7 separate regions of the Homo sapiens genome follow, and all the other regions are linked to region 4. Evidence: promoter capture Hi-C in human tissues and cell types (Jung and others, 2019). All regions are on one chromosome and are shown on one strand. Each heading gives the region's core, a stretch centred on a gene start or on the middle of the fragment in contact. The rest is flanking DNA. Distances are from core to core; before and after follow the strand shown.

Region 1 (3,822 bases), core at 124-2,623, 930 kb before region 4:
AATGAAGAAAAAGGAGGTGGACTTCTCTAGATCAAAAGAGATTTAAGAGACATAATAACCAAATGTGATATATTGAATTCATTCAGCTCTTATTCAAACAAATCAATTATAAAAACAAGTTTTAAAACTATTGGGGGACATTTGTTTATGGAGTAGAAATTAGGTGATATTGATAATTGAAATTGTTAGTTTCAATTAATATGATTATTGCATTTTTAATTATGTATGCGAATGTCTGGTTTTTTTAAAGAAATGTACCCTAAAATTTGTAGGGGTATAATGACAAAATATCTGGAATTTGCTTTAAAATACTTCAGCAAGGGAAAAAAAAAAAGAAGGGATAAGCTAAGCAAATATAGGAAAATCTTGATAATTTTTGAACCTAGTGTGGGAAATGGGAGCTTACTATACCTTTCTTTCTTTTGGTTTTAAAATCTTTTAAATAAAACTTTAAAATACCAAAAAGAATACATTCCAAAAGAAGAATGATAAAGGAGCACTTACTCTTCCAGATATCAAAATGTACTACACAGCTAATAATTAAAACAATGTGGTTTTGCCTTAAAGACAGATCTGTAGCCTCCAGAAAGAGATATATTTGTGTATAAAAATGCAGTGTCACTTTGAATCAGTAAAACAAAGAATGTGTTATACCATAGGTGGGGTTGGAACAATTGGATATCTATTTAGAAAATAAATTCTAAGCAGTTAAGAACTAAGAAACAAAGTCAAAACTCTAAAATATTAAGGGAAATCATTGCCCTATTCAAACCTACTCAAATATTTAAACTCCTAAACAATTAAAAATACCTTAAATATAAAGCTTTAGCATAAGAATTGGAGAAAACTTTGCCATAAAAGGCAAAGGATTAACAATTAAGATACACATGGAGCCTCATTCAGAAATAAAAACAAGTAAATTAATCAAAGGAAAAATTTGCAAAGGTCTGGACAGTTTACAGAAGAACTAAAAATATGTGAATACAAATGGAAGATGAATACGCAATTGAAAAAAAATGGCCAACCTCATCTGTAATCTACAAAGTGCAAATTAATCTTTCACCTAGCAGACAGTCAAAAATTAAAAGCCCAGTATTGGATACAGTACTGATGAGGGTACAGGGAAATATGCAGCCTCACAAACTGTTGGTTGGAAGGTAAATTGGTAAAGCTCTTTTGTTAGGCAACTTGATAGTACTTTTCAAAAATTGTAAAACAAAAAGTCATTGACCAAGCAATTCATTTTTACTCTTTAGAAATACTTTCACATGTAGAAATACTTCTTATAAGGATATTAGCAACAAATTAGAAATCCGCTATGGTAAGTACCCATTGGTAACCAAATTTTGATATGTCATTGCCATTAAATACTATATAATAGAAGGAAGGCTGAAGGAAATCTGTAGTGATTGACATGGCAATATTCATGGCATTAAGTGTAAAAAAGTAAGCAGACTGTATTCGGTGGATCGCACCTTGTCAAAGGCTATACTTAACCACGCGAATCTGTTTTTGCACTTTAGCATCTAACAGGAAAAGGCATTCTTTACTTCATCCCCAACACAGTTTCTTTTACTTCATGAGGTTAGTGCAGGCTGAACATTGTGATGTAATTTTAAATAGGATCCTGGATGCTATTGATTTTTGCCCTTAATTTTAGGGAAAAGAGACCACGATTAAGTCAGTTGTCAAGACTCACAAACCAGCAAGCAGCTCTGTCACACATTGCATGGAGCTGTGTCCAGGAGGCACTTACATTATCAAATGGCTTTAAATGCAAGCAGATGAAGGTGTAGGATGACGTTCTATAGAGGAAGGAAGGCCAGCCCTTTCCCAATTTCGAGAGTTTTAGAGTTTCATTATTAGAGAGCTAAAAAGGAATTGGAAAAGTTAGGTTTTTATGTACTATTTAAACTTATATGACAAACTGGAAAGCAGAAATTAAGTTAGAAGGCCAATCTGTATCTACCGTCTAGGATTTTTCCTTAAGAAGTCATTTTTAATATATCTTTTCTCTCTTGTCAAGCTTGATAAAGCTTGCTTTGTGAAATTTCAAAACTGTAAAAAAGAAAAAGCTTTCCTTATAAATAATACTGTTATACTTGTTACTTTGCTCTCTTCATTAAAAAATGACATCCTGAAGAACCATCCATAGTTTGCTTAATTTTAGTAATTTAAAAAGTTGTATATCATATGTGATTATCCAGATAATAGTGATTATAAACATTTGTTTATGTTTCAAATGTCATTTTTCAGTTTTTCCAAAACTTAATTTCAAATACCCAACTCTTTGAAATGGGGAGACAACAGGTTAGTGCTGTAAATATCTATGCATTGACAGATTCCATGTGAATACTGATAACAGTGTTTGGGAAAATTTGAAAGATAAGATGTAATCAGAAAAACACACTTCAGTAAAGTTTATTTGAACATCTCTTGTTTTCTTGTGAATTTTGACCTCAAGTTACTTTAGAAATGCATAGTGCATCTTCAGATACTGCTCTACAAGTTTGAATAGCATTTATTCTCAGGTGCTCTGTCTTCTCTGGCATATAAAATTACAGGGTTCTTATATAATATCAAAAAAGCAGAAAGTCGTGGGAGTTATACAATTTCATTATGTCAAACAGGAATACATTAAAGCTTACTGTTTGTTAAAGTTAAAAATACATTTGCTGAAATTGCTGGAGAAATTCAAGCACAATCATGTCAAAAAAAAAATGAAAAGGAACTAAAGTGTGATCTTCTAAAATTTTCTTAGTCCAATTCATGAAACGACATTTTATATTACAACATTATTGCCTTTCCCAAAAAGTGATTTTGCACATAGATTTTAATAAAATAGATGTTTGCAATGGGTTAACATACTGCTAAGCAGTGACTGTCCTGAAACTACTTTGTGGAATTTAAAATGTTAGTAAAAGCAAATCTGCATACATGATGCATACCACACTGATTTTAGAAAATGGTAATTCGGATGAAATTTTAGCTTTTAATTAAATGTTTAATCTTGTGTACATGTATTCATTTATGCTATAGAAACGTTAGGAGTTGTGCTAATGCTGTTATTTGCTCTCTGAGTATAAGAGGTCATCTGCCTTGGAACATGGTATAAGAAGAATAGTTTTCAAAAGATAAAACTGTATATATTAGTTCATGACACCATGAATTTAAATTACATTGTCAGAGTAGGAATGGATTTAAATATAGGTACATTTTTGTTGTTGGTGGTGGTGGTGTTTGTTTGTTTGTTTTTTTTTTACTATGTTTTGACATGTGGTTACAAACTGTCGGTGCATGGGCCAGATAGGACCTGTAGATGTGATATCTTGGGCCCAACCAGCTTCTTTTTCTAGAAAATCAGGGAAGACATGAAAAAATTATAGAGATTTCACATAAAAAACTGGACTCCAGGGTTTTCTTGAAAATCCAAAGGAAAATGGCGCTCAAGCACGGCATCCCATGGTTGTCACTATGTGAAGTAGGTGGCCTCTCTTCTGATGGTTCTTGAATTCCTCTGTTCAATACAGTCACCTCCACTGCAGGGTCTTCCTTCCATGGAAGCTGAGTATAAGTTACCACTCATTTTCATAATTACAAATTATATCTCTCACTATCTAGACATATTTAGCAGAAACTGAATGTCTAGGAAATGAGAAAACAAAAAAAATTGAGATGACTGAATATTTCAAGCAGAATTGTTGAAGTAATAGAAAGTGATTTACTTCATTTATTTTGGTTTATTTCCTGCCAAGTTTTAGAGACATTTTAAAAATATTTTATTGGGATATAATTCATATACCATAAAATTCACTCATATAA
Region 2 (3,828 bases), core at 606-3,105, 840 kb before region 4:
AGGAAGTTTTCTTCTCTGTGGCTTACTACTGTAAACTTTCAGTTATCAAACTAAAGGGGGACATTGGGCCCAAATCATTTTTAAATGCCATAAAATTTACCCAGTAGTAATAATTAACCCATACTATGTGCCAGGCACAATTCCAAGTATTTTGTTCCATTAAATAATGAGACCTGACTGTGTTATGAGTTGACACATTACTATCATCCTATTTTACATAAGATTTGGAAGCACCTCAGAGAGTTTAGATAACTCACCTGAAGGCAGAAGCTGGGAAGAGGCAGAGCTGGAATTCAAACTCAGGACATCTGTCTTCAGAGAACTTGCTCCTGAAATTAAGCTCCAGGTTTCCAGGCTTTCCTTGTAGTCAAACCTGTTCTGGGTTAAATAAAAAAATAAGAGGAGTTGAAAGACCTTTTCTAAGTAAGAAGTAAAAGAGGTACAGTGGTCATTATCATCTGAATAGCCCATTTTCAATTCTTTATTCTCATCCTCAGGACAATGATGGAATCATAGTAAGGTTTTCACAATGTAAATGAGGGTTGGCATGGAGGGAAGGGAATATCCTGACTGTGCTGCTACTTTGCTTATCTCTTGCTGATAACTGTTTCCTGGTGGCTTTTGAGAATGATCTGAATCTAAAGTATCTCCTTATTAAGAGCTAGATATTAAATAAATACAAGTCTCCTAGAGCATAGGAAAATCATGTTTCTTCCTATCAAAGATGTTGAAATCTTTACAAAAACACTGATCAAAATTGGTAGATTTTGAGGGGGTTGTACCTAAAAAGTGAAAGAGACTGTCTTTATCATATCCTTGGTCCTAGAGAAATCATTGCAACTCATCAGTAGTGGCATCTCTGAGAATCACATCCATATTATTAGTATTTATCAAAAAAGTCATTATTGGCCAGGTGTGGTGGCTCATGCCTGTAATCCCAGCACTTTGGGAGGCCGAGACCAGCAAATCACTTGAGGTCAGGAGTTTGTGACCAGCCTGGCTAACATGGTGAAACCCCGTTTCCACGAAAAATACAAAAATTAGCCAGGCATGGTGGCGGGCACCTGTAATCCCAGCTACTTGGGAGACTGAGGCAGAATAATCTCTTGAACCCGAGAGGGGGAGGCTGTAGTGAACTGAGACTGCACCACTGCAGTCCAGCCTGGGCAAGAGAGTGAGAATCTGTCTCCAAAAAAAAGGAAAAGAAAAAAAAAGTCATTACTTATGATCATATTTGTCATCAGACTCCTGAAATTTCCGACTAACAGATTTAAGAGAACTCAATTAAAAAGCCATGTGCTGTATTTTTTTCTGAAGAGAGGCTATCACTATATATCGTACTTGATGCAAAATGTACTATCACTAAATATGTCGAACACGTACTAGCATATCTAAAAGCCATGGAGATCTTAAAGAATATTATTCACTTAATGAAAAGTAAGGAGACGTAGAGACTCTTCATCTTTCAATCAAATTTAGCAAATGTGTTGAATATTTAGTATGTATCAGGCACTAGACTTATATTGACTGGGAATACAAAATGATAAATTATAGCTCTTATGGAGCTTGTAGCCTTGTAAATAAGACAAATAGGTTCACCAACAACCAAATATGGTAGGATAAGTGTTATGAAAGGGGATTATAGCAAAGACTCTGAGAGTAGAGAGACATCCAAGACAGACTGGGAGAGTCAATAAAAGTTACCTGACAGCTGAATATTCACACCCGATAAACGTTCGTGGTCAGGCTGAAGGGTAGTATGTATGAAAACATAGAAAGGAGAGAGTGTGGCTTGTTATAAAAATGGTTTTAGGGTGGCAAAAAGGGTGGATATTTGGGTGAAGAGACAAAGCTGGAGAAATACTTAAGCAGAGAGAGAAAAAGGAGCTGATTTTGAAGGGTTTTGTATGCCTTGCTAAGGGTAGGCACCTTATCCAGAAGTTGGTGGTGATTCATTTGTGGGCTTGAAGCAAGATGGTAGCATCAGAATCACCTTTGGGAAGATCACAGTGGCAGCCTTTTGAAGAATGGATTGGAGAAGAAGACCTAAGGCCAGATCAGTTGGGATGCTGTGGTGGATCCCTGTAAAAGAGATGAGGGCTCGAACCAAGGCAGCAGAGGTGAGGATGAAGGTAAGGGGTCAGTGTGAGAGATGAAGGAGGTGGGCTCTATTACTTTTAGAGACCAGTGGGTTGTTGGAAGTGAAAGAGAAGTTAGCATTTAGGATGAGCTCAAGGTTTCTGACCTAGGTGATTCGCCATTTGCCAAGCGAAGAAATACTAGAAGAATAAGTTTGGGTGGAGAGACGCTGATGTCATTGTTGGACCTCTTCCATTTAAATGAACATACCCCAAAGACAATTGAATATAAGATTGTGGAATTTAGGAGATCTTATCATATCAATTTGGGTATTATCTTTAACAAATACTTTTATAATTGTCTGTTCTCTGCAAGATGACTTTTTATTCTCTATCAGGTAAGTATAGTCTGTTTCCCTTTAATAAGGCGTTTAAGGATTGTGATTTCTAAGACCTTGACATGAAGCATAAATTATAAGAGACAGTAATTAGAAAATGGATAAGAAGGTGTGCTCTTCTCTTGACCCTGGCAAACTGGCAGGAATGAGAGTCGACAAGGCCACTGCTGCAGTACTGTACCTCATGCCCCCCACCCATTCCATTGTGTGATGGAATATTCTTCCTTCTGATCTGCATACCATTTAGAATTTAGATCCTAGGCTCATCACTTTTATATTTAGTTTTTCTATCTCATTATGAACTAAATCAGTTTGTTCTTTGACAGAAAATTAGTCAGAGGTCCCCATATTAAGACTGCACTGCTCCTAAAGACCTATTGCAAAGATAGGTTGAATCTAATTCTCCTCTTTCCTACCTCTCATATGTTTGAGTAGAATAATCCTAAAGGTAGAAGGTGGAAACTACATATATGGAATAAATTATAAACTCTAGATTTACAATAAAGCAACAATGTTAGACTTAAAGAATATTAGTACTTAGATACCAATATTAAAGAATATCCTTTAACACAAATCAAAAAATGTAAATGAGAATTACGTAAAAACAAAAAAATTAGAATTAGTCAATTCTTTATTTTCTTGAGATATTACTTTTATAAAAGCTTTTGATTCTAGTGACTAATTTCCATTGATTATATACACATTTTCTAGGCAACTTGGGTCAGGAGAGTTTTTGTCTTGATCTACAAACGATATTTCCTCCCAGGCATCGAAACAACTTATATTCACCCCGTGAATATGTCATCAATCTGTTATGTGTGAATGGACACTATTTTTTCCTGTACTTGGCCAAATGTTTCATTTCCTGAAAATTAAATTGCTTAAATGCAACAGACAGATGGCCAGAGAGTCCTGTAGTAGCTTGCTCTGCCATGAAATTTATCTGCATTTCTGTGGAAAGCCTGAGAAGTTGGGCAAAACTCTTTTTGCACACTACTATGCCATGATTGATGTTGCAGTCTTCTTGCCATTTTAAAATTATTAATAATTCTGTTACTTTGGACATTAGGAGGAAATGGTTTAAAGGCTATTTCATATTTTATATGAAAAATTAAAACTGTTCATGAAAAGTCACATGGACCACCTTGGTTGAACTTATTTTAAAATTGTACTTAAGGTATTAAAAAATAATAATTACACATGAAAATGGAGAAATAATAGCTGGAACTTTTTTCTTATTTCCAGTCTTCTAATATATTCTCTAGGCTAACGGCATATTCTTATCAGTGCAGTATAAGAAGTTTGACTAAATAAGGCATGATCTATGTAGTCTGTTTTGTTTTCTTTTGTTA
Region 3 (3,832 bases), core at 744-3,243, 910 kb before region 4:
ATTGTATTTGACAACAGTGATGCTATTTGTCCTGAGAAGCCCTGCTGCCTATCAGAATATTTCTGAATAATACTGTACCTAGCCTTTGTCTACCAACCTTTTGTAAGAAGTTTAAAGGTAATTTGTATGCTGGTGTTCCTCATGTAAATTAGGTCATTATCCTTTTAAAGGTATAAAGCCTCCTGTACACGATGGAGCTTTCTAAGAAAAATAGATTTGACCTTTCTTTCCCTCTATTCAGGGTGCCTGCAGTGCTTGCACTCATTAGCTAGAATTTGACTCCATGACATTTTTACTTAATTTTCTTTTTCTTCTACGTTGGACACATGGGGCAACCATTTATATTCTTTCTTGACCTGAGATGCTCTCTAATCTCTTTCCAGCTGTGGCATTTGTCATTCAGTCACATCAGGATATGGTGACCCTTCTTTCCCCACTGCAATTCCCAACTGTTAATTGATTCATTTTAGGGAAGGAACTAGACACAGCCCTATGGACCCAGCTCCATTTAATTAGTGTTAACCAGAACAGTAGATAGGAAAGCAATTTCCTCTGGAGTGGAAACATAGGCTTTATAAGGTAGTAGAAGAGACAAATAATACTAGTTTTTATAGCCCTTAGTTTTTAAGGGCCCTGAATTGGCAACAGACTTAGAAACAGCATTCCTCTCCATTAGTAATGATGGTTGTGACAATAATTATTATTATTAATAATAACTGTGATTCTAACCCAGGTCTTTCTGACCACAAAGCCCATACACTTCATCCTTGTGCTAAAAACTTTTTGTGACAGCTCCCACCGGTATGCCAAGGACTATACTAGTTACTTTGTGTCTTCCTCATAATCCAGTGAGATGCATCACACGAAGCCCATTTTATAGAAAGGGACACTGAGGTTCAGAGAGGTGAAGTAACTTCCCCCAGGTCATGCATTTGCTGTGACCAGGATCAGAGTCCAGGTCTTCCCTGGCACTCAGTCCATGCATTTTATCACTACTGACACTATATTGCGCTTAGAATAGAAAGGTACTAGCAAAAACATCTCTGGAAAGCACTGCTAGACACTTTGTAAACTGTGATCCAAGATATTATTCTGATGGAATTTACTTTTGAACTTGAAATACTTTATTTACAGATTATTAGGACTTCAATAAAATGTAGAGCCTTAGAACTGCAGGGAAGCAACATGTTTAACTACGAGAATTAATCACTTTAATATGTGCCTGCACAGTTAGAGAAGTTGTGGTCTTGCAGTGTGTAATGTTATGTGTGAACAGATAAACAATTAAGGGGTGGCAATATTCAGTGATACATTTTATGACAGAAGTGTCCAGGACGCTATGGAAAAGAGAAGAGGGCAGTCTTTTGCAGGTGGGGGTAGGCATATCCCAGAATAGGCGACACTGAGCTGAGGTGTGGATCAGGTGGAACCTGGCTGCCTGAGAAGTATGTATGCAAAACAGAAGGAGGGATTGACGTGAAAGACGGTGACGCATTCTTAGAAATGGCTGGAGAAAAAGTATGTTGAGGAGAGTATCCTTGGCCAACTAAGTATGGAGGTAGATGGCATAAAATAATCCCATTTTCTAGCTCTCTCGTCCTTTACTACATAAAGGCTCCATTTTGTAAACATACCTTTATTTTTTATAAAGCTTTTAAAAATAAATTTATTTCTTTTAATGGACAGATAATAATTGTGCATAGTTTGTATCTATTTTGTTCAAGCAACATCTTCCTGGCAGGAGGCGTTGCTGCTTCTAAAGCAGATGTTTTGCAGCAGCCATAGAGCTCAGCTGCCTGGAAAAGAAATAAAGGATCCTTCACGTGTTAACTGTAGCTCTGTGGGTTCATGAACAGATCCTAAGCTATTTCTTGAGCAAGGCTTTAGCCCTGCTATCAAACACTCCTACTGTCCCGGTGCATCCTTCTGGTTTAAAAAAATGAAGAGGAGAATTTCTTTTTTTTTTTCTGAGAAGGAGTAAATACATGTTAACTTTCTTAATTTTCATAATAGAACATAGGCCTGGTTACCTGCTTGTCTGGAATCTAAAACTGCCTGGGGAATCTCTCCTTGAATGTTAGTAATTCTGTTCTATATACCTGGAGTTATTAAGCATAATTAGATTTCTGTGACCTAGAATATATAATTATTATAAATAAATCTACTGTAACTATGCTGAATTAAAGAGACTATTATATGATTCCTTGGCAAGTCAACCAGTAGTGCCTACATGGTCATGCTAATGAGTCTTTTTCATTTGATTTCTTCCATCACTGCAGATTTATGACCTCTTGTTTCTAAGTCATCTTGTCACCAGAGATTTAATAAGGATTCACTCTGTTCTCTTCTAGTTTTTCTATGATTTTGTGTTTTTATTTAACTTTTTGCTCAGCAGGTAATTATTTTAGTATAAGAGAGGAAATATTGTTTCAAGTAGTATTTTCCCCTATGTTGCTAATCGTTACTAATTGTTAATTATTTTATTTTATTTTATTTTATTTTATTTTTTTTTTGAGACAGAGTCTCGCTCTGTCACCCAGGCTGGAGTGCAGTGGCACGATCTCGGCTCACTGCAAGCTCTGCCTCCCAAGTTCACGCCATTCTCCTGCCTCAGCCTCCCAAATAGCTGGGACTACAGGCACCCACCACCACGCCCGGCCAATTTTTGTATTTTTAGTGGAGACAGGGTTTCACTGTGTTAGCCAGGATGGTCTGGATCTCCTGACCTCGTGATCTGCCTGCCTTGGCCTCCCAAAGTGCTGGGATTACAGGCATGAGCCACCACGCCGGCCAATTGTTAAATGATATCTCCACCTTTGACATTGATTTCTGTTAAGACTTACAATATTTTAAATATATACATAGGGTAGATTTCTGGGTCACTAATTCTAGCCTGCTTATCTCTCTCTTTTATCTTTCACAGCCACCCATATTTTAAAATATCAACATTTTATAGAATATTTTGATATCAAGTAGGGCAAAATTTATTTATTACTCTTCTGTTACTTTTTTCTATTCTTATTAGAATATGTTCTGTTCTTCTTACAAAAGGGCTTTAGAATAATTTCATTAAGCAAACAACATTCTGTTAGGATATTGAGATAGATGTTTTCTTAAAGTTAAAAATAAGCTTTTAAGTACTCATCTATAATTCATTTGGGCCTATTGAAAATAATTTCTTTAAAGCCCCTTTCTCATCCATCCTAGACTTTGTTTTCTTCTTGATATGTTACTTCTTCCTATTTTTTTTCTTTTAGTTTAAAGATGGTCTATTTTTCTAGAAAAGATAAAAACAAAAATATAATTGAATAGCTTTTTCTATTTTGTCTGTTAGCATTAAACTATTTATTTCTGAGTTTGAGGCCTATCTCTGCTTCATTCTTTCCACATGAAACACCCAGCTGAAAAGCCTTCTGTTCTCTTTTAGCTTTTAAAAAGCTTCAGCTTTTCCTTCTTTTGGCCTTCCTAGGGTGGTTCTCTGGCCGGAGCCACTTACTTGCATTCAACCTGACTCTGTGCTGGTCCTTCTGCTGTTGATTCTTTACTTTTCTGAACATGAGCTCATCAGACAGTTCCCTGGGCAGTCACAACATTTATCTAGTTACCAGTCCCTTTTCTTCCTAATTAGGGCAACTTGCTATTGTGTTCTCAGTCTGGCTTGTGAGACCTTTTTCTCTTGTAGCCATATTTTTTTTAATCTCTAACCACAAACTTAGGAAATAACTTCCCAGAAACTTCTGAGCTGCCTAGTCAACCTATCTAAATACATTTTTTTTTCTCTCTTGGCTACTATGATCTCTGAGATGATATATTCACAGCCTCCCAAATTCCC
Region 4 (3,694 bases), core at 1-2,500:
TGCCCTTGCCCGGGTCGTCGTAGTGGCGCGGCACCTTCACGAAGCACTTGTTGAGGGACAGATTGTGGCGGATGGAGTTCTGCCAGCCCTGCTTGTTCTCGCGGTAGTAAGGGAAGTTCTTCATGATGAACTCGTAGATGCCGTTGAGCGTGAGCCGCTTCTCGGGGCTCTGCCGGATGGCCATCATGATGAGCGCGTTGTAGCTGAACGGCGGCTTCTCGTACTTGCCGTTCTTCTTCTCGCCCTCCTTGCCCCCCTCCCCGTCCTTGCCGCCCTCGCCCGCCCCCTTCTTCTCCTCCCCCCCGGCGCCGGCGCCCTTCTCCTTCTCGTCCGGCCCGACGGGCGCCAGCTCCCCCGGCCCGCCGCCCGGCTCGCCCTTGCCGCCCAGCCCGTCCGCTTTAGCCCCGTCCAGGGCGGCGGCCGGTGGTGGCGGTGGCGGCGGCGGGAGCAGCAGCTGCTGGGGGCCCTTGTCGTCGTCGGCGGCCGGGGCGCCCCGCGTCTGGGGGGGCTGCGGTGCCGGGGGCGGCGGCGGCGGCGGCTGCTGCTGCTGCGGCGGCGGCGGCGGTTGCGGGGCGGGCGGCGGCGGGTGGTGGTGATGGTGGTGGTGGTGGTGGTGGTGCTGGGGGTGGTGGCTGTTGTGGTGGCCGTGGCTCGCGTGGTGGTTGTCGTTCTGGACCGCCTCGGGCACCAGGCTGTTGATGCTGAACGAGGACTTGGGGATCATTTTCACCTCTTTCCTATCTCCCATGTCCAGCATCACCCAGTCGTCGGGGGGAAACGGCGGCGGCGGCGCGGGAGCGGGACAGCGGCGCGGCGGGCGGCGGCGACCGGTGGGTGCCGAACGGGGCGCGGGGGGCGCGGGCGGCAGCGGCGGCACTGAGCGCTCCGGCAGCAGCGCAGTTGGACCGCAGGCTCGGGCGCTGGCAAGTCATGTAGCAAAAGCAGCAACCACCCCTCAGGAATTAGAAAAAAAAAAAAAAAGGAAAAGAAAAAAGAAAGAAAGAAAAAAGAAACAACCACCGCCCCGGGGGTGAAGCTCCCTCGCTCCCAACTGTACTTCTTGGTCTCCCCCCCCACCCCCCGCTCCCCCCCCCGCTGCTTCCTCCTCCTCCTCCTCCTCTCGCAGCAGCAGTCACAGCAGCAGCAGCAGCAGCCCAAAGGGGGGGAGAGCCGGGCGGCGGGCGGGCGCGTCCCGGAGCGGCCGCGGCGAGGCTGGGGAGACAGCGATCGAGGCGGCTATAGCCACAATTAATTTTCCGAGCTACAGGCGCACACTAGGGCTGTAAAAAAATTTTTGGTTTAACCTTTCCTACCGCTGGGCCAATCAGAGCTGGCGGCGTGCGGGAGCGTCTCTCTCGCCGTCGACCAATCGGAGGGGCCGGGCCCACCCACCCCCGCCCCGCCCGCCGGCTGCCGCCCCCTCGGGCGCTCGCCTCCCCCTCTCCGCGGGCCTCGGACCCCGAGGCCGCGCGGAGCCGCGTAGGGATACGCCGGCGGGAGCACGCGGTGCCGCAGCCCTTCCCTGCGCCCCCGCCACCCCCTCCACCCCGCCGGCTCCGCTCCACCGAAATTCCCCTCCTAGGGCCAATAGCTCACATTTCCGGCTTCCTCCTCATTGTACTGGGTCATTTTCGTTTAAGCGTCAATATTTGTCCTTAGTGATTAAAGTTTGTATCCAATTTTATTTTTGAAAGCGGGGGTGGTGGTGGTAGTGGGAAGAGTGGGAGTGCAGGGAGAGGATGCGAGAGGGCAGGAAATGGAGGAGGTAGAGGCGAGGCACTACTTTTCCGAGTCGGCCTTGCAGGCCAGTGTCTGGCATTTCTGAGCCAGCAGGAAAATTGTGCCCTTTGTAGGTAATAGTCTAGCGCAGCTTTGGATAAGGGGGGAGATAAGGCCCACCGCTGGCGTGTGTGCGGGGGTGTCCTTTACTTCGGGGGAGGAGGGTGTGGGAGAGCTTTGGGAGCGATGAGATGAGGAGGAGGAAGTGGGCAGAGGAGCGCGGGGCCAAACAGGGGTTACTTACTCGATTCCTGAGGCCTGGGCGGCGGCGAGCTCCGGGCTCCGGCACCGCGGGGAAACCGGGACTGGGGCTCCGGGTGCTGCTGCGGCGGCCGGGGCCGCTCAGTAGTGGGCGCCTCTGATGGCCTTCCGAAATGAGAGGTGCCCAGAGAGAAAACAGTACCAAACAATCTCGAAATAAATCAGGTAACACATGCTATATACGTGTGTCTCTTCCTTTTCCTTCTCTCCTGCTCCAGAGCGTCGCTCACGCGCGGGGTGACTCGATGTCGTTTTCTCCTCGCCGCTCCAGCCTCAGCTTCTAATCCGAATTGGAAGCGGGTAGCTGCGAGCGATCACCCTGGAAATATTTTCGTTTTGCTTGTTGACATTGGAGGGAAAATAAGGGTGGGCGTCTATTTCTTTCCGGTTTTTTTTTTAAGCCTTCCTATTTTCACTCCTTTTTTTTCCTTTCCGTTTCTCAAATGCTTTTATTTTGTGCGGGCCTCATTCCTGAAATAACAGTATACTGAAGCCAGCTCTTGCCAACCCTGAGTGCTGCTGGAAAGCACCGGGGAGCCTTGGGAACGTGGATCTCACAGTCCCAGCTTCTTGGGCTTTGGAACTGGGAAGGTTCGGTTGGAGGTTGAAGTGAATGGGGAAATTGCGAATCGGGGGCTTTAAAAGGATCCCGTGGCCAGGGGCAGGGCTAAGGCCCAGCATTTCCCAGGGATTGGAATTTAGTGGGGAGCACATTGATCAAAGGCTGTTTCATCCCACATGGGCACGAAACATACCACATTTTACGGAGGATGTAGCCCCAGAGAAGAGGGAGGTGGAGAAGCATAAATGAAAGGCACCTTTTCCTTCCTCTAGAAGGTAAATAATTATAAAATGTAAGCATTTCTTCACTTGGATAAACTTTCATTAAGATATCTGGCAGATTTGGTATTTAAGAAAACGAAGGAAGGAAAATTGGTGCTTATGCTTGATCCTAAAGTTAAATTGTAACATAAAGAATGCGGTTGATGAATACTCAGGATAATAGGGGGTTATTCCATCCTCCCCACCCCCAGTCTTAAGAAAGAGAAAGAGAGAAAAGGTTGGGGGGGGGGGAGGAAACTGGAGAGAATAATAGATAATTACAAATAGCTAGTGAATTTTAAATATGCATCTATTAGGAATGCCACAAAGGAGCTTTGAATATTGGACTAACCTCAAATGTCCTTCCACTGTATGTATGTATCTTTACCTATGTCTACATATCTTCTCACTTTAAAACAAACTGTATTTACATGTGGAAAAATTCAAGGGTTCCAACAATCAGTGTTGATAGTGACATGGTCCCAAACATTTATTTCCAAGCTCTGGATTTCTCGCAGGGCCGGGTGAGCTAATGGGCTTTGCCTACCGGCTGGAGAGATTTGTGGGCCTTCCCCTTCCTACTCACTTTTCCTCCTCCCACTCTTCTCCCCTCTTCAGGCCCGTTCTTCCTACTTTTCCTCAACTCTCCTTCCTCCCTCCTCCCTCCTTCTCCCTTAGCTCCCCCCGCCCCTTCCCCCCACCCTCCATTCCTCTGTCTCTCCATTCCTCCACCTACTCCTCCCAATTTCTCCTCTTACAGCCCCCCTTCTCACCACCACTTATAATGGCACACAGGGCTCCCTCTGAGGTGGACGGCCCGGTACGTTTTCGT
Region 5 (4,160 bases), core at 618-3,117, 650 kb before region 4:
CTAATTTCATATATTTCAAACTAGCAGAGAAAGATTAACTGACATTTATTCAGTGCCTAGCATATGCCTAAGATATGATGCCTTCCTCTTTCCCTCCTTCCTTTCCTTTCTCCCCTTCCTCCCTCCCCCCATGTCTCCCTCTTTCTCTTTCTTTCTTCCTTCCTTCTTTACAATATATTTTTCATCTGTTGTATGGTTTGAAACTTTTATTCCTTTTGAGCTACTAAATGCATTTGTATTTTTGCAGCATATACTGTCTTGTATTTTGCAATTATGGTTCATAGTTATGATTTTAAAATTGCATGAAAATCATAACCATCTCAGTTTTAAATGGCCAGCTTACACATTGATACAAAAACTTCTTTTAAGAAGTCCCCCAAATATATGAGGCACACATCAATAAATATATTATTAGAAACATGAAGGCAATAAAAGCAAATGCTAAGGAATTAGTAAATAAAGTTTCCCCGGGTTGAGTACAATTCTAGCCAACAGCACACATTAATGGTTTAGTTGAAAGCATGCCTGACTTTTGGTTCATTCTTTCTTTTTATTGTTAAGGTATCCTAAAGACAAAATAACACCTCTCATACCTAGAATTACCACCAACTAAAATTTTGCACTGCTAAAAATGCACAGAATTGCGGGGGAACTGCCCTTGTCATCTGTTAAGTTATACAAGCACGTATGCTGCTGAGAGTTAAGAAACATCTCTCTTCAAAAGAGAAGGACAAGCTCCAGTACAGGGAAAACCAAACTGTACTATTTTTTTCCCCCTCACAAATGGTACAATAAGGTTAGCCCAGTGATTTTTTATTTAACATAGTTGGACACATTATTAATATTAAGAGGCTTCTTATTCTACTTTATTTGCTATAATAATTGCAGAAATAACTGCAACTAATAAAAAATTCCAAAATATCCATTAAGGAATTTATCATAGATGTAGGCTTTTCATTTCTTGTTTTTAAAATAAGACCTTAACAGGAAGAATTATATAAGTATGAAGAAAAGGACATTAAAAAGCAGGTAGTCCAAGTTCTTTTATTTTTCAGATGAGAAAACTGGTCCAGAGAAGGGGACTTGATGATGCCAGTGACAGAACCAGGATGATAACTCGCATCTCCTGATTCTCTTGCGCTTTATTTCATCACACATATGAAAGAAGATGAGAAACGTTCAGCATTCAGTAGTGGGGACCACTTTGAGATTAGTTTGTCAATTGCCATATAAGTATGCTTTTGCTTGGTATATCTGTGTAAAGCAATATGTACTCTATGTACTAAAGGTACATGATAATTGTGACTTGAGGACAATACAAAGACTGACTGGTTTGTGATTAAACATTTCACATAGTAGTAGGTGCTTGGATATTATTATCTTTAAAACAAATGTAAAACTGATTTCAAACTAAAGCATGAGTATTTTAACAAATATATCAAATATCAGAGAGGAAGGAGGAAGGATTTTAGAACAATGAACCTGGAAAATGTGATTATTTTTGACATGTTTTCACATTCCTACAATACAAGTCACTTGATAAAAATGACCTAAAAAGTTTTTCTTTTTTTTTCTGTGCCATCTTCTCAGCTCCCAACCATGTCATTTTAACTAACAGAACTGCAGCCTATTTGTACTTTTTTCCTTCTGCATCAGTTTCGATTCCTTTTTATATACTTGCTTTTATCTAGGTGTCACATTCTCTCTAAATGATAGATTGTAATCTTAGCCATAGGAAAAAAAAAAGGAAACTTAGAAAATGGATGGATTTGATTTTAAGAGATGTAGGCTAGGCACGTGGCAGCTACAGAGAAGTGAGCCTCTAGTGAATGCTAGCATTATATGTGTTTTATATTAACCCTTGGTTCCAAGCATATAAAAATATTTTGTAAGAAATTTCTTCATGTATTTTGTAAAATTATTGTAAAAGTCCTTCCTCCTCAAGTCTCTGAGGATAATCCAAAATCTTTGGCAGTTTTAAGAATCAGGAATATGAATTTTATTCTCAAATACATTTCATCTCTCACTTTAATTATGTGTAAAGTGGTCATGTATTCATTTATATATATATTTATATATATAGAAAATTTACTAATGTCATATAAAGGAAATATTTAGCAATGTGAATGAGAAATGAATAAAACTTTCATAGAACCTATAGTCTAATAGAGGAGGCACGGAAGTAAAGAGACAATTATAACATAACGTGACAGACCTTAACCATAGGGGTGTAGAAATAGTGCTGGAAGGAATAAAGTTGTGGCTTCTGTAAAGCAGGGACTGCGCTGAAAACATGTTTTGGTTTTGTTAAAAAGAGCATATCTGCTCACTGAGTTGAAGTTCTGTGCATAGACAGATGATTCAAGGATCCTCATTCAATAAATCAGGAAGGCATCATGCTTTCCAGTTCTTATTGACAGTGTGTAAAATAGATTTTAAAAACAGCTGAATCTAGAGGGGGAATGCAGGGCAAATCAAATTATTTAAATGATTTCTCCACCCCAGTGAAGTTTAAAGAACCATATTTAGAAGAAGAATCTAATTTCACATGCAACTGATTAAGTTTTACATGAGTTTGAAAGGGAAATGGTTTGGGGCATGAGAGAAGTCGGGGAAAATGTCAAATTCTGCTGAACCAGATTTCCCAGTGTGGTTTTATTTTCAGTTTGTAATGGAGTTTCAGAGTCTCACACTCACGTTTTAGGTATAACTGTTAACACAGAAACCTATTTAATAGTTATATAAAATATTCTTAATAGTATTAACAATGCAGTTTCTTCATTATTTGAGCAGATGATTGAGAGGTGATTGTTTTGCAATGAGAATCTTCCATAGAATACAATCAGTACCAGTTATTGAGACCTGTGTCAGGCACTGTTCTACCTGCCTTATATGTGTTCATTCATTTAGCTTTATAACATCCATAAAAAGTACAGGAAAATATTATCTCTATTTTATGGATACAAAAAGTTAGGTCAGAGAAAGTGCTTTCCCAATGTCACACACCTATTAAGTGGTGAAAATGTGATGATCTCTTTAAGGAGTCACTTTTCAATCTCAAATTCAGGAATTTAAATTTTGTATTCAAGCTTCCACAGATCTATTTTTAACAATAGGCCTAGATGTTCAGAGAATATTTTAAAATTTTTATGTTTTCTGGATACACTTTATATTAGGAAACTTTGGATTTAATTATCTGAGATGATGTAACCCCACTTTAAAATTTGATTTTATTCAACCAACAGGAATAGCAAGGAGACATGTACTATCAGACATATAATGAAAATAATCATTAGAAGGAAAATTGACATATACTATTTTTAAATAACTCACATTTATTTAGTGTATTACAGTTTACAAAGCACAAATATCTGTCTGTGTTAATCTTACACTTCTTCTTGCTACCATATTTTAATTTGTACCAACATCTTGCTTTATGTATTCTTTTACTTTCTCTCCATGTATTTCCACCAGTTACTCTTTTCTCTATTTTTATTTCTTAGAATATTTTGGTGAAAATTTAGCTCAAAAGTTCTAAATGAGTAAGGTCTTTTTTTCCCATATGCTAATCTTGGGGACTAGTCTTCATTCTGGATCACCGTTATTGATCCACACAGTGGTTTAAGTTTCTTTCTGAGCCTGGGATGGAGACAGGTAGGAAGGCAGAATGAAGTTCTATACACACAGAAGCTTACTGCCTTGGTTGCTACAGACTAACACTCTGCCTATGTTCTTTGTCCCATGTCCCTAGCTTCTAGGGATAGTGCTCTGAAGTGCCCTCAAAGTAATTTTGTTTTAAATCCTATCCTTTCTCCACGTGCCACACAACATTCTGATGTCACTTCTGTTTCCTCACAACAGCAGAGTTGTGACAAGTGTGTATTTGACAATCAAGTGAGACAAGCCCATAAGAGAACTCATTAAGATTTTATCCTGATAATCAGACCTAGAATCTTATTTAAGGGGAAATCAAAAACAACAACAACACACCTATCACATAAGAATCTTAGATCAAAATCATCCAAAATGTCTTCAAATGAGCCACTTATATCCCCAACTTTTTGTTTCGTCGTGTAGATCTTGGTGGGGTATACATATGCACTATGATAGAAAAAATAAGACCTAGTGTTTGATAAATTCGTAGGGTATTATGATTTACA
Region 6 (4,003 bases), core at 483-2,982, 630 kb before region 4:
TTCTCCATTTATTAATTCAACAGACACTTTGCTAAGTAATTAGGTAAAAAAATGAAGAAGATAAATTCCTGTCCCCAAGATTAAGACCATGTAGGTGAAACATATATGCTTTTATTAGGAACTAAGATAAAACTCTTTGTAAGGAGCACAAAAGAAAGGTTTCTATCTCTTAAACATGATGGGCAAAGATACTGTTAAGTCTTTAAAAATCCATAGAGTTGAGAATAACACTCTCACTCCCATTTGACAGCTGGGGAAACTGAGGCTCATGCTACTCAGCAGGCTAATAGCAGATTTGAGGCTAAAGCATATGGCTCCTTGAGTTCCCGTCTATAACTGTTCATTCCACTATGTTATCCTTACGGGAATTGCCAGAAGGAAAAGATATGAAATGCTAGAGATTTGGTTTACTTTTCTGTGGATACAAAGGATAGCGTGAAACTTATTTGTGATTTATTTTCCTCCCAATGAGAGAGAAGATCTAAATGGCCCAACTTAGCCACTTGTAACCTGCTTTTTAAAGCTTTGAGATATCGTTTTTTTTTTGTTTTTTTTTTTTTTGGAAGACGCTAACACAAATTTTTCTTGTGAGTCAAATCTCATGACAAGGGGAATTGCAATTTGCATACTGCATTACACTGAGGTAACCGAGTCTTTCACTATACTGCATTAGAATTCGAATTTTATTATATACAAGTATAGCAAAAGCAGACTCAACTGTGTATACTTAACTGAAGTCCATTATGAAAATATTTTTCAGAACATGTTTTATTATATCTTAGTAACCTACTTGCTAGCAGGATGTGCTAGCCCATAATATCTAGGGTGAGCGTGCCATCATGTAGGAATAAACTCACTTAGGCACACATAAAGTTGTCAAGCTATTCTGCCATTCATTATTTATCCACTGCTACTCATTTCATTATTTGTTTAGTTAACTCTTTTTTTAAGTCATTCATAATATAACCATTAAATCAATCAAACTAATCTATCAATCAAATCAATCAAACAACACTAATACCTGAACCCTGTTTTTAGTATCACTTCTTGTTGTGATTTTAGTATAAAAATATTAAGTCTTGGAGATGGCTTATCAGTTCAGTGTGTTTATTTGGAAGATAAAATTTTGAAGATAAAAAATGGTAATTATAAAAAAGTAATAAAATGTACTGTCTTTGAGGAGGAAAGTGCAGCACTTAGACAAGACAATAGCCTACGTTCTCTGACTGATAGGAGGATATCACATTAGATGAAAATGATAAGATTTAGTAGACTGAAGAATAACTTCCCCTTGACAGTGCCCTGACCCTTGACCTGTGTCCTGACTCTTGTTGGCTTCACTAACACAGGGCAATTGTCACAGGTGTAGGATAAAAGACATTTCTGTAGAAGCTACCAACAGTTAGAGATTTATTTCTTTTGATTATCACTAATGTGCTGTTGGGATAAAACCGTAAGTTGTGACCTTCTCTGAGCTATAAGGACATAAAAATTTACTCACAAGAAAGCAAAATTCTAAATGCAAAGAGCTTTCTTTATTGTTTGGCTGGAAGAGCGCTATGTAACAGAGAAGGTACATGCATCGAGGCAAAATGATGGCAAATGTGTTATTGTCATTACCCTGAAAACGTGTTTCAAACATAATTGTGATACAGATCTAATAAAGAATATTCCATTTATCCCTGCATTTTTATAATTCTTAGTAAACTCTTACCATGTCATACCCTGGAAGTTTGTCCTGTTCTGAAATTATTCTTTTGATTTATATGCTAATCATCATTTAAAAAAATCAGTTCTTTGACTTTTATTTAAATTTTCTGAAAGTGGTAGCTTTGTGAGTACTTACGGATGATGTGGTAACAATTGTGATTTCTCATGAAAGTTAATGCCTCCTGCTGTAAGAAAATATATTGTATACTCCTTTTTAAGTAACACAAGCAAGAAATTCAGAAAATACAGTGAAGCACAATGAGTTATGTGAATCCATGTTATAAGAGAAGAATATTGCAAGGGAAAAACAAATAACTGTGACAACCATTAAAGTAAGTAAATCCATGATTGAAAAGGAAAAAATACCTGCAGAAGAATGAATTTTACAGGTAAAATGAAAATGACTTCACAATTCATTAAAATAAAGTCAAAGCAGCAACCTGATAGTGTTTCCCAATGTTTTATCATGAAGGAAATGGAGTCAAGTTTTTGAACACTTGACATGATAAAGTGATGTATTTCATTATTCTGTTTAGGGGGCGAGGGGGATGTAACACAAGAATCATCCAAATGTTTGTCACTTAATGTAAAAAAAACCGTAACAATTTCCTTGCCATAATAGATTTCCAGGACCCAATTGCTATTCAAAACTGTGTGAAAGGCATAAAATACTTTTAAATTCATTGAGGGTTCTTATTCAGGTCATAGGTCTTGCCCTTCAACATTTTTTATCCACAGCATGTTTTGATGACACAAAATTGGTATATCTAAGCTTTAGGATACTCAGTCAAGGAAAATACAAAGATTACGTTTATCATAAAGTGATTCTATAGGTAAACTACTTCAACTGATTTAGTAAAGGTGTAGCTAAACCCATTTGTTTCCAAAATATCACACTTTCTTTTTATTAAATCATGAAAATAAGGGATTATAATCATGTAACTTATTGTCATGCATACTTGCTAAAATAATGCCTTCTTCCCAGACTACCATCGTTGCAAATGTGATGAGATCATCAGGTAACAGAGTAGGATATGAAGGCTTAGCGTGCTGTGTTGTTAGCACATTAAAAAAAGAAATTGCTGGGATAATTAACAACTACCTATTTGTCTGTGGGATGCATTCATTATGGCTCTACAAATTGGAGGTCTCCAAAATCTGTGCAATAAAATTTACTCTTTGTTCGCGAAGTTCCCCTTGGATTTGGGGAAAATTCTGGTTTGCTGTGTCTATTGTAATTGTGACAGGCAGTTGACATGTCTCATAGTCTAAATGTAGTGGCAAGCAGGGGGTGGTACAATGATGAAAAAACTGCCATTCATTCTTGTGCAAAGGAAAGGTGTTTCTTAGCATATTCCAACCTATGTTCAGACTAGAGTTGGGTCTTTGGGGTTGAAGGTCAAATCTGTGAGGTCAAAGCTATTTCTTGTCAATCTTCGTTCACTAATGACACATGAATTGGAAATTAGAACAAAGTAAGTAAAACGAATAGCCAGAAGGTGAGTGTCTGTTTTATTACTCAGAAGAGCTGGGAAATCTGGCCAATTGTTGCCCTATGTGGCTTGAATGACAGTTGTTAAGTTGAAAAAGGGACAGTGTGATGGGAATGCCACTTTAAATCTCAATTACCTCCTCCACTCCAATCAGCTTGGTAGAGCTTTAATGAAGTGCAATTCTCTGTCCTTTTCCTCATACTTCTATCTCTAGAATAAGCCTCACATTCAAGTTTGACAGCAGTACAATCAGTTTTCCATTCATCACTGGCCCTGTTTTAACCCTGCTGAAAAAGGGCCTAATGTACGTGGCAGTGATGGCAATTAGGCAGAAAAGTAATATTAGAAACAGACAAAAGCCTGAGTCTTTTAGCATTACAGGTGTTTTTTTTTTTTTTTAGCCCGTTCTAGACATAAAGGAATAGGCAGTGTTGTTAAGTTCCCTTCTTCAGTCTTCTCTTAAGCTGAAAGTCCAACGATTTCAAGATTCAATTAATTAGAGACATGGAGAGCCAAAGTACAAGGTAAAAGCTAAGTTCTTTCTAACTGAAGACACACTTAGTAATTGGCCCCTTATTCAAATGGATATCTTCTGGGTGTATGTTTAATAAGGTTGATAAAAACTCGTCATTTCCTCATTAGGATAGCACATGAATACACTCTGTATGTAGAAAAGAAATCTTAAAGAGAACAAACAGGAAAATATCAATCTGTTAAATATAGGAATGTAAAACATAAAAATTGAAAAGCCTGAGAACTATAACTTTGCAGGATGGTGGGGGGGGGGTGGGTATGTTAAA
Region 7 (3,675 bases), core at 983-3,482, 950 kb before region 4:
GTTTCCTTCACAATGACTCTGGAAAGTAGAGAAGTCAGATATTTGAAAAGCTATAGAATATAAATTGTAACTTGCCTATGTCCTGCAGAGAGTAGGAGTAACACCAGAGCTTGAATCTAAGTGTTCAGTCACTATTAATACCATTTCAATACCATTTAGCCCTTTGAACTTGAACAAGTAAACAGAAATAGTTGAGGACTTGTTCAAAGAATTCCTATTGCAGTAAGAGTTTATATTTCAGGGACCATTGATGATATTTGTAACAGCAAAAGTAGCAGTGAGCTTCAGGAACCATTGAGATGATGTTTGTCATAGACCATTATCATCCTCTTCCTCATAAAAATGTAAATATTTAATTCATATACTCAAACTTTAATGAGGTTAAGAAAACCCTGAAGGTTCTTCTCTATAGTTATAATACAAAATATAAAGCAATATAACAGTGTCACTGCATCACTAGGATCCCATCATAAGTTCACAATTCTGATCAAAATGGAAATAGTGTCTTAGGGTCACTATATTTAAGAAATCCTTATAAGCATGTTTTACTCCTACTACGATTCAATGCCTAAATCATAAACCAGGAAAAAAAATATGGTAACAACATTTTATTAAGCTTCTTTTTTCTTTTATAGAAAGTGCAAATTACTGACTTTATATATTAATTTCTCTTAGATATAATATTATATTAATTTGTCTTAGATATAATACATTGGTTAGCAATGTAGCAATATTTTATCTTCTGTGAAATTTAGGCAGAAGATAAAAACCCCAAGAGTGATATAGTAAATCACTGTATTATTTCCTCAAAAGTATATTGCATAGATATAGTTTTTGTTTGTTTGCTTTTAAGAAGGCAGAATTAATTGTGGGCAACACCTTCTCAGCCCTACTACTACTTGGGCAACTAAGGTTTTATAAGACCTGGCCTTCAATGCTCAATTTATATTTCCTTGTGTTTGTACTTGGACATCTAAGTGTCACAGGCTGAATGGAGCCAAATCTTCTCTAACTTCAGTTGCAATTTTCTTTGCAGGTGGTTTTGTAACAGTGGAAAATCTAAATGTGAAAATACACGTCATTTCTCTTTTCTCCCAAGTATGGCTTATGTTAAATGTGTCTTCAGCATTTCCTTTTTGTGATTGTTAATATTCTCTTTCCATTCTTATCTTTCAAGTAAACCTGTGTATTAGTCCATTTTCACACTGCTATAAAGATACTACATGAGACTGGGTAATTTATAAAGAAAAGATGCTTAATTGACTCACAGTTCCACATGGTTGGGAGGGCTCAGGAGACTTGCAATCATGGCAGAAGGTGAAGGGGAAGCAAGGACCTTCTTCACATGGCAGTAGCAGAAGTGCCTGTGAGAGCTCAGGGAAAACTACCATCTATAAAACCATCAGATCTTGTGAGAATTCACTCACTATCACGAGAACAGCATGGGGGAAACCACCTCCATAATTTAACCACTTCCCTGCCTCGACACGTGGGGATTACAATTCAAGATAAGATTCGGGTGGGGACACGAAGCCTAACCATATCAACCTGGTTTTAATTTCTTTGTGCCACACTAAACCATTTTCTCAGAGAAGAGAATGCAGACAGCAAGCAGATTGGAATGTTACCATAGACTCCCACTTTTCCCTACTTGTGACTTCAGTAGGGATATTGTGCTTGGTGCACTTCTTCCTCACTTTGATAGTTTTCTTGGTTATTTATCTCCTGATAAAATGGATTCTCCAGGGAGGAGATGGAGAAGCAATGACACAATAGTGCATTGTTTCTCCATCTATTTTTCCTCAAGCACCCCTAAATATCAAGGCAGAGGGAAGAAATTCTGTCCAGGTCAACTGGGGAATAAGACAAACCCGGAAGTGAAAAGTCTTGAAGCCTCTTATTTCATATGAAAATTTTATGCACATTTTCCATTCTGCTGCATTATATTCTTCATGCTGTATACTTTTAAATAAATAATATTTCTTGCCACATATTGTTCTTTTAGAAATAATAATAACAATAGTGATGTTAATATAACAATAGTGATGGTAACATAACAATAGTGATGGTAATATATTTATGATATGTTATGCACTGTTCCAAGTGCTTCACATATATTAACTCAGAAATATGCATCATATTTATGTTATATCTCCACATAGCTTCAATTTCATAAGTAGTTGATTTTCAGTCAATACTTTGGTTTCAGTCCCAGAGTTGTCATTTATTTCTTATATAATGTTCAGCAAGTCACCCCATTTCCCTGAATCTTGATCCATCTGCTGTAAAATAACATTAACAGTATCTCCAATATATGGTTGGGCTGTAGAATTCATGAGAATAAATATAAAGCATTTCACAAGATGGTTGCCAAATGTAAAGTACTCAATCCTCTTACCCCACCTCCACCCCACTGCACTACACATTTCTTGAAATAGGAACGATTTATTTTAATATTTGAAACTTTAGGATCTGGTATATCACATGCAATCAATATCTATTTATTGAGTGAAAGAATGAATCCTTAAATCAATGAAATGTACAAGCCAGCAAATACATGAATAATTAAATTGATGTCCTATGTATGATATCCAAAAGTTAATGTTGTTGTATAGGAATTGAATTTTATTAGTTCTTCTTGACATAATCTATTAGTAAAATTAATATTATCATCTGATTAATTCTTCTTTTTCTGGACTCTTGTTATCTCCTAAATATTGTCAAAAATGTCTTTTAGAAAATTGCTTATTTATTTTTAAAAGTCCTGTTTTTAAACATTGCAGTTTCTTTCACAGTATTTCTCAAGCAAAATTATACTTAATTCATGGAATACCAATTGTTTTCCTAATTTCTATGATTCCTGGATTGTGTTCATCACCATGACCAAATAACCCCATTTGCTATTGTACTAAATTCACTCTTCAGTGAATCAGTTTTCCCAACCATTGCTCTTTTCTTCCTAAATATTCTTGCTTTCTTTCTGAGATGTATTCAGTAGTTACTCCTTTTTGATGTACCCCCCAATACTCATCTCATTTGACTTCGTCAATTTATTCATTGTCTTTTTCTTTCTGGAGCCTCTGTGTTTCATATCTTCGTTACAGCTCCTAAGAGGTGGCCCTGGAGATGGCCTTGGGCTCTGGCCTTTCTATTTCAGAGTCTGGAAGGAAAGAGGATTGATATCCTGAGGTCTGGCTGACCTCTCCTGCTGTTCCTTCTTCCCCTCCTCCTCTGTAGTTTTATCCATTTAGCAGAACAGCTGTCCCTGCCTAAGGGTCAGCTGGCAAGACCTACAGAAAAAGTTGAGTCATGTGCTCCAGAACTGGATTCTAAATCTCCATAGATCTCTGTCAGCAATACATACCGTGGTTTTCATGGAAGGACATATCAAGCTTCTCTCTTCACACAGAATTAGCCTAAGGCCTAGTTCCTCAACATCTGGCAAGTGGATTTTCAGCCAGAAATTACTGTTTCTGCTTCTCTTCTCTTTTCATCTATTACTGTGCTAATTGAAGACAGTATTATAACTGTCACCCATGAAAACAGGAAAAGAACACGAGGGCAATGAAAACCACACAAAGGGGACTTTTGTCTCTATGCTCTGGTTACTGTGAAGCTAAAAATTCCTTATATTTGCTTCTTAGAATGGAAGTTTAACGGTCTGGTCTAATTTAT

The links. The method cuts DNA at HindIII sites, captures the fragments that hold promoters and counts their contacts. A contact is called where the count stands out against the background at its distance.
Region 1: a contact is called between a fragment that was not itself captured here and the fragment with the promoter of FOXG1 in region 4, in 1 of the 25 tissues and cell types used here (hippocampus).
Region 2: a contact is called between a fragment that was not itself captured here and the fragment with the promoter of FOXG1 in region 4, in 4 of the 25 tissues and cell types used here (IMR-90 fibroblasts, lymphoblastoid cells, mesendoderm cells and 1 more).
Region 3: a fragment that was not itself captured here is called in contact with the fragment with the promoter of FOXG1 in region 4 in 4 of the 25 tissues and cell types used here (bladder, liver, lymphoblastoid cells and 1 more).
Region 5: a contact is called between a fragment that was not itself captured here and the fragment with the promoter of FOXG1 in region 4, in 2 of the 25 tissues and cell types used here (dorsolateral prefrontal cortex and mesenchymal stem cells).
Region 6: a fragment that was not itself captured here is called in contact with the fragment with the promoter of FOXG1 in region 4 in 6 of the 25 tissues and cell types used here (bladder, dorsolateral prefrontal cortex, hippocampus and 3 more).
Region 7: a contact is called between a fragment that was not itself captured here and the fragment with the promoter of FOXG1 in region 4, in 2 of the 25 tissues and cell types used here (dorsolateral prefrontal cortex and liver).

Annotation. Positions count from the first base shown.
Region 1 is chr14:29,696,603-29,700,424 of GRCh38, reverse strand. All of the region lies in intron 2 of PRKD1 (protein kinase D1), which reads left to right. Among named protein-coding and RNA genes, the nearest start is that of PRKD1, 230 kb to the left of the region's middle. The HindIII fragment of the contact is 4,665 bases long and covers 1-3,705 here.
Region 2 is chr14:29,603,392-29,607,219 of GRCh38, reverse strand. The region is part of intron 13 of PRKD1 (protein kinase D1); the gene reads left to right. Among named protein-coding and RNA genes, the nearest start is that of PRKD1, 320 kb to the left of the region's middle. The HindIII fragment of the contact is 8,723 bases long and covers 1-3,828 here.
Region 3 is chr14:29,671,022-29,674,853 of GRCh38, reverse strand. All of the region lies in intron 2 of PRKD1 (protein kinase D1), which reads left to right. Among named protein-coding and RNA genes, the nearest start is that of PRKD1, 250 kb to the left of the region's middle. The HindIII fragment of the contact is 5,612 bases long and covers 1-3,832 here.
Region 4 is chr14:28,764,343-28,768,036 of GRCh38, reverse strand. FOXG1 (forkhead box G1) reads right to left here and starts at 1,250. Exons shown (of 1, transcript NM_005249.5): 1 at 1-1,250. The coding sequence starts at 757. FOXG1-AS1 (FOXG1 antisense RNA 1) reads left to right here and starts at 2,718. Exons shown (of 7, transcript NR_125758.1): 1 at 2,718-2,877. RefSeq lists an enhancer at 1,595-2,119. The HindIII fragment of the contact is 7,501 bases long and covers 1-1,801 here.
Region 5 is chr14:29,417,278-29,421,437 of GRCh38, reverse strand. No RefSeq gene overlaps it. Among named protein-coding and RNA genes, the nearest start is that of LINC02326, 350 kb to the right of the region's middle. The HindIII fragment of the contact is 3,046 bases long and covers 345-3,390 here.
Region 6 is chr14:29,391,473-29,395,475 of GRCh38, reverse strand. It overlaps LOC102724934 (a long non-coding RNA gene), which reads left to right and starts at 3,433. Exons shown (of 7, transcript XR_001750707.2): 1 at 3,433-3,727. RefSeq lists an enhancer at 2,334-4,003. The HindIII fragment of the contact is 4,226 bases long and covers 1-3,845 here.
Region 7 is chr14:29,716,014-29,719,688 of GRCh38, reverse strand. All of the region lies in intron 2 of PRKD1 (protein kinase D1), which reads left to right. Among named protein-coding and RNA genes, the nearest start is that of PRKD1, 210 kb to the left of the region's middle. The HindIII fragment of the contact is 4,614 bases long and covers 1-3,675 here.